4 separate regions of the Homo sapiens genome follow, and regions 2, 3 and 4 are each linked to region 1. The links are contacts of gene promoters, found by promoter capture Hi-C in blood cells and fetal thymus (Javierre and others, 2016). All regions are on one chromosome and are shown on one strand. Each heading gives the region's core, a stretch centred on a gene start or on the middle of the fragment in contact. The rest is flanking DNA. Distances are from core to core; before and after follow the strand shown. Region 1 holds the start of BACH2 (BACH transcriptional regulator 2). Region 2 has its middle 6.6 kb from the start of UBE2J1. Region 3 overlaps RRAGD (Ras related GTP binding D). Region 4 holds the start of RRAGD (Ras related GTP binding D).

The links. The method cuts DNA at HindIII sites, captures the fragments that hold promoters and counts their contacts. A CHiCAGO score of 5 or more calls a contact.
Region 2: a contact is called between a fragment that was not itself captured here and the fragment with the promoter of BACH2 in region 1, in 1 of 17 cell types (fetal thymus). The highest score is 6.7, in fetal thymus.
Region 3: a fragment that was not itself captured here is called in contact with the fragment with the promoter of BACH2 in region 1 in 1 of 17 cell types (fetal thymus); the score reaches 6.9 in fetal thymus.
Region 4: a contact is called between the fragment with the promoter of RRAGD here and the fragment with the promoter of BACH2 in region 1, in 1 of 17 cell types (fetal thymus). The highest score is 9.5, in fetal thymus.

Annotation. Positions count from the first base shown.
Region 1 is chr6:90,295,569-90,298,111 of GRCh38, reverse strand. It overlaps BACH2 (BACH transcriptional regulator 2), which reads left to right and starts at 1,269. Exons shown (of 9, transcript NM_021813.4): 1 at 1,269-1,632. LOC105377891 (a long non-coding RNA gene) reads right to left here and starts at 873. Exons shown (of 7, transcript XR_942778.4): 1 at 376-873. RefSeq lists silencers at 1,356-1,405, 2,031-2,090. The HindIII fragment of the contact is 2,083 bases long and covers 406-2,488 here.
Region 2 is chr6:89,358,016-89,360,558 of GRCh38, reverse strand. No RefSeq gene overlaps it. Among named protein-coding and RNA genes, the nearest start is that of UBE2J1, 6.6 kb to the right of the region's middle. The HindIII fragment of the contact is 6,763 bases long and covers 1-2,543 here.
Region 3 is chr6:89,376,205-89,378,747 of GRCh38, reverse strand. It overlaps RRAGD (Ras related GTP binding D), which reads left to right. Exons shown (of 7, transcript NM_021244.5): 5 at 935-1,077. Among named protein-coding and RNA genes, the nearest start is that of UBE2J1, 25 kb to the right of the region's middle. The HindIII fragment of the contact is 1,953 bases long and covers 300-2,252 here.
Region 4 is chr6:89,411,003-89,413,545 of GRCh38, reverse strand. RRAGD (Ras related GTP binding D) reads left to right here and starts at 1,273. Exons shown (of 7, transcript NM_021244.5): 1 at 1,273-1,700. The coding sequence starts at 1,553. RefSeq lists silencers at 857-2,046, 2,077-2,186, 2,217-2,316. The HindIII fragment of the contact is 2,415 bases long and covers 374-2,543 here.

The sequences.
Region 1 (2,543 bases), core at 20-2,519:
CAGACATTCCAAATGGGGCCTTTCAAAACTCTGCCCTCAAATGAAGGTAGTTCAGAGCAACACTTTAGATGATATCACAAGACTCCCAGGACGCTTCACTGCTTCCTCAGCATACGCCAGTGCCCGTTTTACAGGGGGGATTTATGATCCTTCTCTCAGTAGAGCGAGCCAAACTTTTATAATATTCATTAAAAATCAGCACCACGTGTAATAATATGGAATACTGCCTGTACACAAGAGGGCCAAGTTATAGGTGTTTAGGGAAACGTGGCAGAATTTTCTGGCCTTGGCAAGAGGTAAAGTTGCAGGCACCAGCACAACACTAACACAACCTTATTTTATTGCAAATGTACATTCAGCCTAAATCCTAATTACCTTCTGTAAAATCCTAACCACCACCAAGCTTTCTTCTGACAGGGCACTCACACGACGGCCTTTAAGGGCAGCAACAACATCCTAAGAGCCGCAGAAAGGAAAGGCAGGGGAGAGTGGCTGGAAGGCAGTAGGAGCTGGGGCTGAAGCCCGGGAGGTTGGCTTTTAATGTCCTCCTGAAATTGACCACTCTCTTTCCAAAAACACTGGCTTGGGGGCTTAAAGGTTCGCTCAGTAGGGCAGGCGGAGGGCCTCCTGAAAAGGATTGAGAAGTCAACATTCAAAAGGCTGCTTTTACTCGCCCGGTCCCCACCCAAAAGGGAGTCCGGTCAGCTTTGTGGGGGCCAGTGGAGCATCTTTTCTTGCCCTTCCGGGAAAACGCTAGCTAACCCTGGGATCCCCGGTCCCGACGTCTGCTCTCCTTCCCCAGGTGCAGCACCTAGGGCTCTGGCCCCCTCCCCACGTGCCACACCAGCCCTCACCACTACTCTCACCCTGCTATGCCCCCAACCCTCGTCTTTCGTGGCCGGGAAGGCCAGGCCGAGCGGGGCGGTCAGCCGGGCCGGGAGGAGGGGGCTCTCCGGGCCGCGCGGCCGCACAAAGCGGGGAGATCTGCTGCTGCGGCGGCATGAGGCGCGCCCCCTCCCGCGAGCCAGCGGAGCGCGCGCGCCCGCCCCCGTCCCCCGCCCCCCGCCCCAGCCCCCGGAGCGCCATTCGCGGAGCGGCTTACGCTAGTCGCCGGGCGTACCGCGCCCCAGCGGCCGGGGAGGTGCGCTGCCCGGCTCCCGTAAAGTTATTGTGAATGGGGAGCGGGTGACGTCAGCGCCGAATGTCAACAATGTAGCGATTGAGAGTGTGGGCGTTCCGGGGAGAGCGCAAGCCGCGCGGCGCGGAGCAAACAGCGCCGAGCCGCCGCCGCCTCAGCAGCAGCAGCAGCAGCAGCAGCGGCAGCAGCGGCCGTGCACGCCCGGGCTGCGGTCGCACAGCGCTAACGTGAGCGGCCGCCGCCCTCGCCACCCCGCCTGCCCACTCCCGCCGCCGCCCCGCTCTCGCTTTCCCCCCGGCCTCCCCTCGCCCCTTCCCCTCCCCCTTCCCGGCGCACTCGGGGGGCTGGGAACGAGCTGCCATGTGATGCGCGTCCCCTCCGCGAGCTTTCGGTGACCCACGAACTGCCCACCTCGCCGGCTGCCGGGAGGGGGCTGCGAGCCGGGAAGACGCGGGGAAGAGGAGGCGGAAAAGGACGCAAAGTTCTCCGGCGAGGTGAGTCCCGGGCCCCGGGCCCCGGGCCCCGCCGCTGGGCGGGGTGGCGGGGCAAGTTTGCGGGGGGAGCGGGCGCGCGGGGCGGGCGGGGAGGCGTGGGGAAACGGCGCGGGAAGGGAGCCCCGGCCGCCGGGCGCGCAGCCGCCCTCCCCGCGCCCTGCCCGCTTTTATGGCATTTTCTAGGAACGGGAAGGGGGTGGGAGCCGAGCCGGCGGCCGCGCCGCGCCGAATGTGTGCTCTCCCTCCCGGCTGTTTACGGCGGCCGAGGCGCATTGTATTTTGCTGGCGTCGAAGGGTGTTTTGGAACAGCAGAGGGAGGAGGAGCAGAGAGTAATAAGTCAGGCATGGGGAGGGCGGGCTGCAGGAGGCGCGCGTCCGCGCGAGCCGCAGCAGCTGTCAGACCCGCGGCCCTGCCCCCGGCCCGGCGAGGCCCGGGTGTCCCGGCCCCCAGCCTGCGATCCCAGCTCCAGGCCGGGCGGCCTCCTCCTTAACCCTCGGCGTGCGCATCCCGGGCTGCTCCGCGAGGACCTTGGCCGCGGCGCCTTTGCGCTCAGCTGTCAGCCGCCGCCGGGTGGCCCGGACCACCGCGACCGGCGGGGAATCAAAGCCCAAGTTTAGGGTCGCAGGAAGAGGCGAGCTGGGGGCCTCGCGGCGCAGACCTGGATCGAATCTCTCCTAGCGAAAGATCGGGTTGTCGGAAAGCGTCCCGCGTAGCTAAGACCTAAGGGCGCCAGGCTTCTGAGAGGGAAACCTTGCACCTCCTCTCCCACAGATCCTCCATGAAGTCAAGGTGCAACACACACACACACACACACACACACACACCCTACACTCCAGTCTCCAAGCCCCAGAAGCTTCACCCAGGAGACTGGTTTATGAAGGGGACACTGCCCTCCCCGTCCCCGCGTCGA
Region 2 (2,543 bases), core at 30-2,529, 940 kb after region 1:
GGGTATTTTTGTATGCTGGGTTGTATTACGGGTGAAGGGTTGATGGGGTTGTAGGCCTGAGAGGATCATTTTTATTACAGACTCTATCCTTGACTATAATATGATAGCGTTACATGGAGTTTAGTGACTCATGAGCTCATGTCTGACTCCTAAGGGGTCCTTTGTTAATTCAGATGACATTGGTCTTATCCGTTATCAAGAATCCATGAGTTTGGCTGGGTGTGGTGGTTCATGCCTGTAATCCTAGCACTTTGGGAGGCCGAGGCGGGTGGATCACAAAGTCAGGAGTTCAAGACCAGCCTGACCAACATGGTGAAACCCCGTCTCTACTAAAAATACAAAAATTAGCCAGGAGTGGTGGCACGCACCTATAATCCCAGCTACTCAGGAGGTTGAGGCAGGAGATTCGCTTGAACCCGGGAAGCAGAGGTTGCAGTGAGCCGAGATCGCGCCACTGGGCGCCAGCCTGGGCAACAGAGCGAGACTCCGTCTCAAAAAAAAAAAAAAAAAAAAAAAGAATCCATGAGTTTGCCCTTTTGTGCTATTTTGAAAGGGAGCTGATCCAGTGACTACACTCAGGAGGGTGGGGGCATTAACTGGTGTCCAGCTGCCTGAGACCTTGACCATCTTGCTTCCTCAATCTTTCCTAATAAGCTCCTGGGGCCAGCAGGGTTATTCTATTCTTCCAAAATTGAGAGTCATGAAACCAATCCCCCTCTCATGAAAGGCCAACTATGATAGAGCAATTTAAACCTCAGTCCCATGCTAACCCTCATCACCACGTGGAGAATTCCATTCCTACAAGCTGCTTTTGTTTGCCTTCTGCTTTCATTATTGCCTAAGTCCCTAAGAGGGCTGCTACTCAGTTTTCTCCCCTCTGGCTTTGCAGAGAGCTAAGCCCCATAGTACTCAACTTTCCTCACCTAGATAGCCAATAACTTGGAACTAATTCTGGCCTTCTCCCAGACTGCTTATAAGGTGGCCTTGGTAATTAGGCTTTTGTTTCTTTTCCCTGGGAAGCAGTGCAGTAAAGGGGGTGACTGCGGGAGACAGTCCTATGTATCTTTCCATCTCCGTAGGAGAGGAAGGAATTCACTTAGCTTTATAAGGTGCAAGAAACGGTGCCACCAATACACATAGTACTGTTTCATTTAATGCTCTAGGCCCATATTTTCCAAAGTTACCTGATTTTATGAATCATCTAGAGTGCTTAAGGATGCAGATTCCCAGCCCCATCCCGGTCTTCTTGAATCAGAATCTCCAGGGAGAAATACAGAAATCTGTATTTTTAAATAAGGACCCTAAACAATTCTTATAATTTGTGAGACACTGTTTTCTCTGTAGTTGTTTAAAGGGATAGGGAGGGGAAATGGTAGGGGATTAGGGTTGCAATCACCTAGGGGAGCTTTCTTGCATCCTCCATACCTACATACACATCAACACCCCAAGTGTTAGCATTTTTTCCAACTTGATTATGCAGCTTTAAGAGTTTATATTATTTAACCTATATTTCAAATGTAGACTTTTGTGAATGTAAATAATTTTAAGTCTATTTAAACCATTTATTGATTCAGTATTTAAATACTCATTTACATCTAATAGCACAAATTATGCAAATGGTACTAATTTAGAAAAATTGGTTTTTCCTCAAACAATTTTATTCAAATACTTCACATGCATCGTTTACAACTGGGTCTCTATCATCACTGAAACAACATTGTGAGTCCTCTAACAGTTCCCTCCTAGTTATCTAAGGTAGAGCATGCCTTACATTGAGTAGAATGCTGTCAGTGGAGATTTTACTACATCTCGAGAACCACTTGTTAAACATCAGGGTTTTTTTCCTACATATTCATAATCACCATAAATAAGTACTTCTTGTATTTCTCTGTTCAATAATTATTTAAAAGCCTACTTAATGATCTCCAATACTTGTTATCCAAAGTCATACCCTCAGGAATAATTAATCAATATGTCTTTGCCTTTTTTCCCCTGATTTTGCTAGGTGACCTTTATAAGACAGAAAATTGCCATTACTTGTGACCCTTTCACGACATATTGTCTTCCTGAAGAGTATTTTGTTCAAAAAGGACAAAGACAAAAACACAAGGTGACTCTCTTTTCTGAGGAATGATATTTTTGGAAAAATTTTGCTTTCCATTCTGCATATATGGTATATATTACTATTTAATAGCATCTGTACCCACCCCCTTTTTTTGCATAGAGACAGGGTCTCACCATGTTAGCCAGGCTGGTCTTGAATTTCTGGCCTCAAGCGATCCTCCCCTCCACCTCCACCTCCCAAAGTTTTAGGATTACAGGTATGAGCCATCGCGCCCAGCCAGCATCTGTACCTAGACCCAACTTGAATTCCCCAAAGAAGTTAAACTGGCTCCAGTATTTTCTCACAAGATGCTAGAAGGCAAATTGTGGCATACCTATACCTTCTGGTTGGTTAGTGCTGAAAAAAGTACAGGACTACTTTTGAGAAGTTGACGATGTGGTTATCATTCAAAGTTTGCCTATAATTGTAACTTGGGTTT
Region 3 (2,543 bases), core at 27-2,526, 920 kb after region 1:
ATTCCTGCACTTCACTGGTATAATTGGAGGGTTTATTCAAGCCTGTAGGCAATCATTCAATATTAATAGAGCCCCACCAGAGGTAGGGAACATAAAACTTGGCTTTATTGATAAGACGCAAACTGTTGAATAGCTTTTTATAAGTTTAACATGCTATGAGTGATGTGCTGAATGAACCCTACACATCACCAGCTCCAGGTAGGCGCTGCTGAGTTGAATTGAGGCAGACCTATTGGTTATACTCACGTTTACTCTGTCACTACACAATTTTGAGTGTGTTTGTTTAGTGTTTCTAAGCTTATTTTAAAATTTACAGTCAGTAAAAGTATTTTTACTTGGCCTTTTCCTAATTGCAGGTATGTATCTCTACGAGTTAGGAAATATTGCTCAATTTGGTTACCTAAAATAAATAATTTGTGGTCATTCGAATTCTTTTTTTTTTTTTGAGACGGAGTTTTGCTCTTGTTGCCCAGGCTGGAGTGCAATGGCGCCATCTCGGCTCACCGCTACCTCCGCCTCCTGGGTTCAAGCAGTTCTCCTTCCTCAGCCTCCCGAGTAGCTGGGATTACAGGCATGCACCACCACGCCTGGCTAATTTTGTATTTTTAGTAGAGACAGGTTTCTCCCGGTTGGTCAGGCTGGTTTCGAACTCCTGGCCTCAGGTGATCTGCCCGCCTTGGCCTCCCAAAGTGCTGGGATTACAGGCGTGAGCCACCATGCCCGGCCTCTACTTTTTATTTCTTATGCAAGTCCAGTATAGAGAAGTTTATGACAGTGAAGTTTAAATTGTAATAAAATGATACAATTTAAATTTTTAGTAGCGAGTTTTGCTCATTTTGTATTTTACATTAAGAATGGCATTCAATTTTGTGTAGTCATGACATGGTCTGAAGTTGACTGTTGCTTTAAGGCAACTTTTTTTTTTAAATTTCAGAATTCTGGAATTGAAAAGGCATTTCTATTTGATGTGGTCAGTAAAATTTATATTGCAACTGATAGTACTCCGGTGGATATGCAAACCTATGAGCTCTGCTGTGATATGATAGATGTGGTTATTGACATCTCTTGTATTTATGGGTAAGTACAACATTCTTAAAGGCCACAATCAAGCCATCCTTCCTTCATAACCTTTCAGGCATTTTGCATTTACATTTACTTACTTAACTTTAACATTTTTGTCTTAAATGACTGAAATCTATAAATAAATATACCAGTTAGCATGCAATAATAACAGTTATTGAGCAAATGCCACGCATTATGCTAATCTCATTGCATGCTTCCTATTATTTATTTCAATTTTTTAGCAATAGGGTGTCCCTGTGTTGTCCAGGATAGATCACTCCTGGGCTCAAATGATCCTCTCACCTCAGCCTCTCGAGTAGCTGGGATTATAGGCATGAGCCACTGTGCCCAGGTTATCATTTAATTCTCAACTATTCGATGTGGCAGGAATTACATTTGACCCTTGAACAACACAGGGGTTGGGGTACCAACCCTTTGAACAGTCAAAAAGCCACATATATTTCCCCCCTGACAAACTTAACTATTAATACTAATAGTCTACTGTTGACTGGAAGCCTTACCAATAACATGAATGATTGATTAACACACATTTTGTATGTTATGTATTACGCACTGTATTCTTAACAATAAAGTGAGCTACAGAGAAGAAATTATAAGAAAGAATATATTTACTATTTATTAAATGGAAGTGGGTCATCATAAAGGTCTTTACCCTCATTGTCTTCACATTGAGTAGGCTGAGGAGGAGGAAGAGAAGGGGTTGATTTTGCTGTCTTAGGAGTGGCAGAAGCGGAAGAAAATCCATGTATAAGTGGACCTAGGCAGTTCAAATCTGTGTTGTTTAAGGTCAACTGTAGTGTATTCACTTTACAGATGAAAAAACTGAGGTTCAGAGTGGTTACATTTCTTACTCTTGCTCACACTATCAGTAAGGATTGGAACTGGAGTTTCAACTCAGATCTGATTCCTGATCCTCTGCTGAAAAAAATCTGTTAACATACCGTTCTTAGAAAACAGAGCTTCCTATACACTTAATATAAAATAAACAAGGAGTGGGGGAAACTGATTATGTTACCCGATGTAGAAACAATTCTACATAATTATAAATGTGCTGAACAGGTGGTGTACAGACTGACTAGGTGTGAACTAGTTGTTCATCTTATTAAGATGTTAAGGTGTTGCTATCTGTATTGTATCTGACATCCTCATCTAATCGATGAGGTAAAGCTTTTGCTCATCTTCCTCTTTACTCACTGCCTGTGACCTGCCTTACACAGCTTGACGCTCTGCCTTTCAGCTTTTGTGAGAGTCTAGTCTCCATTTTTCTCTTCCATTGCTTAAAAATCCTTTGCCCACTCAGCTCGGATTCTCTCTGTTAACTGTTAGACACACACACACACACACACACACACACACACACACACCACACACACATGGAAAGTGATACTTACAAGATTGTATTGAGGATGAAATATCATTAGGCTCATAACGTGCCTTTACCTGGTAGACTCTGGATAAAT
Region 4 (2,543 bases), core at 24-2,523, 880 kb after region 1:
TGCACTCAGAAATACTAAAAAAAATCCAGGACATGAGTCATGATTTGGTAGACTGTGAGCTCCTTCAGGGCAGGAACACTGCCCTGAGCATTCTTGGACCCTCTACTTAGCCCAGCCTCAGGCATATAGGAGGTGGTTAATAAATGTTTCCTATGGAGGTTAGCACCCTTGGGCCCTGAGAGTCTCCTGCCCTAGCTTCCTCCCTCCGCTTCTGCACCGCACCACCGGCTGAGCTGCTGGCACCTGTAGGAGCTGGATCATCATGCTGACCGGCCGGTTTTTTCTTATTGTGCTCCACAGAAGGAAGTTCATCCACGTAATTTTTTGCAGTACCCAGAAAGGGTGGGTACAGTGTGTTCCGTGGTGAAAAGCTTGTGAAGGAGGAATGCAGGTTTTAGAGTCTCACTCCACGTTGCTGCTATTCCTATTTGAGAATTGCCCCCCCACCACCGCCACTCCCCTACTCCCACAAAAGCCTTGAAATATTTTATTCATGTGGGATTACAGTCTATGCAACAATGAGACATGAGGAGGTGGCCATGAATAGCCCCCGAGTGTGTTATACACTGAGACCTTTTCCAAAGGGCTGCAGAGGAATTATTTAGTCTAAGCAGCCACGAGTCATGTGATTTCTTCAGAAACATTTACGTCTGGGTAGGCCTGCTTTTTAAATATTCTTGGTGGGAAGCACTTTGAACCATAAAGGCACACTAAAAGACAATTGCTATGGAGACTGCGCCTCCACTGTGCATTTATCTGAGTTCTCCGCCTGGGGCTCTTGAGCGTCCACAGGGTGTCCTGGGCACGCTGCTCTGGGGTGGGGGATCTGGGCGCCACAGTGTTGGGAGGCCACCCGCTTGGGACCCTAGCTCAGGACTGTAAGCAGGAGGCATCCGCCCACGGTAGACGCTCTGCGGGCGTGTGGGAGTGGGACGGCGGGGGGGACATTGAGGGTGTGCGGCGCCCCCTCCCCTGCCTGTGCGGGGACCACGTGAAGGAGAGGCGCGTGGGGGCCCCTGGCGCGCAGCCGCGGTGGGTGACGGCCGGCGTCCCGGGGGCCCCGTGTACGGGGCGTGTGTCGGTGTGAGTCTGGGAGGGTGCAGGGGCCCCGCGCCTCCCCGGTCTCCTCGTGCGTGTGCGTGTGCGTGTGCATGTGTGTCCTCGGCCCAGCGCCCCGCCGAGTGGTGCCCGCGGCCGGGCGAGCGCGCGCGCGCCCGTGCGGGGTGTGTATGTGAGTATGTGACAGTGTGTGTCAGGTGACTCGGGTCACGCAGTCTCTCTCTCTCTCCCTCCTCCGGGAGGAACTGCCGCGCTCCGGCTGACTCCTCCGCCGGCGGGCGGGGCGGGGGAGGGGGCTTCGGGCGCGCTGGGAACCGCGGGACCCGGACCTGGGCGCCGCCCGCCGGGGGACGCGCGGCCCCCGCTTCCGCCGGGCCCCGCTGAGCTCTAGACAAACCTCCGCTTCAGAAATAGGCTGCGGGCGGCCGGCTAGGAGGCTTGGCCCCCACCCCGGGACCCCCGCCGTCCCCGGGCCGGCCGGCCGGTGGGCACGATGAGCCAGGTGCTGGGGAAGCCGCAGCCGCAGGACGAGGACGACGCGGAGGAGGAGGAGGAGGAGGATGAGCTGGTGGGGCTAGCGGACTACGGAGACGGGCCCGACTCCTCCGACGCCGATCCGGACAGCGGCACAGAGGAGGGAGGTGAGCGCCCGGCCCCCGCGTCCTCGGCTCGCGCCCCTTTCCTCCCCTTGGCGCCTTCCCGCCCCCAGCCCGGCCGTGCGCGAGCCACCGACTTGGAGGGGGTCCAGGGGAGCGGGTCCAGTTGAGGGTTTGGGGTGGGGAGGGACGCCAAAAGCCCGACCTCGAGCTGCCAAATGAGGGAGCGCGGTGCTGGTGGCGGAGGGGCAACCAGGATCGGTGGAAAAGGGGAAGGAGGGAGTAAGCGTCTGGGCTGGAGGAGCGCGCGCTTCTGCCCCTTTCAGAGCCGGTGCCTCCCGCGCCCCTCACCCCAAGCTCTCCGCAGCGTCTGGCGGTTGGGGAGGGGAGGGGACCGCGGGCGCGCCCTGGGACCTCTCTCCCAGAACGGTGCTGTTGAAGCCAGGGTCAGATGTCGTGGCTAAAAAAAGGCAGCCGGCGGCGGCGTGACTGGCAGGGTCGTCGGCAGCTGCGGGTGTCAGTCTCGCCCCGCGTCGCCGCGGGAGGGGCCCACCCAGGTAGTGGCTGGGGAGACCCGCGGGGCGGCGGGGGGATGCTCGCCAAGCTGTTGTGGGAGTCTCCGAGAGGCCGCAGATTTCCCGGGATCCACGCAAACACCGTTGTCAGGACACCTTATCTGCTCTCGGTATCACCACCTGGACATGGCAGTGCCTGCCCGGGAGTGAGCGCGCGGCGGGGAATTCTTTGCTTCAATAGTGAAGCAAACTCTTTTTCCTGTTCTAGAAGCGGGTTTTAGCAATCGTTCAGCTTGTGGGGGCTTCCTGCATTTTCTTAAGGTGTAAGGAAGTTGAGAGCCTTTTAGTATTCCAGAGAGGTTAAACTTTTTTT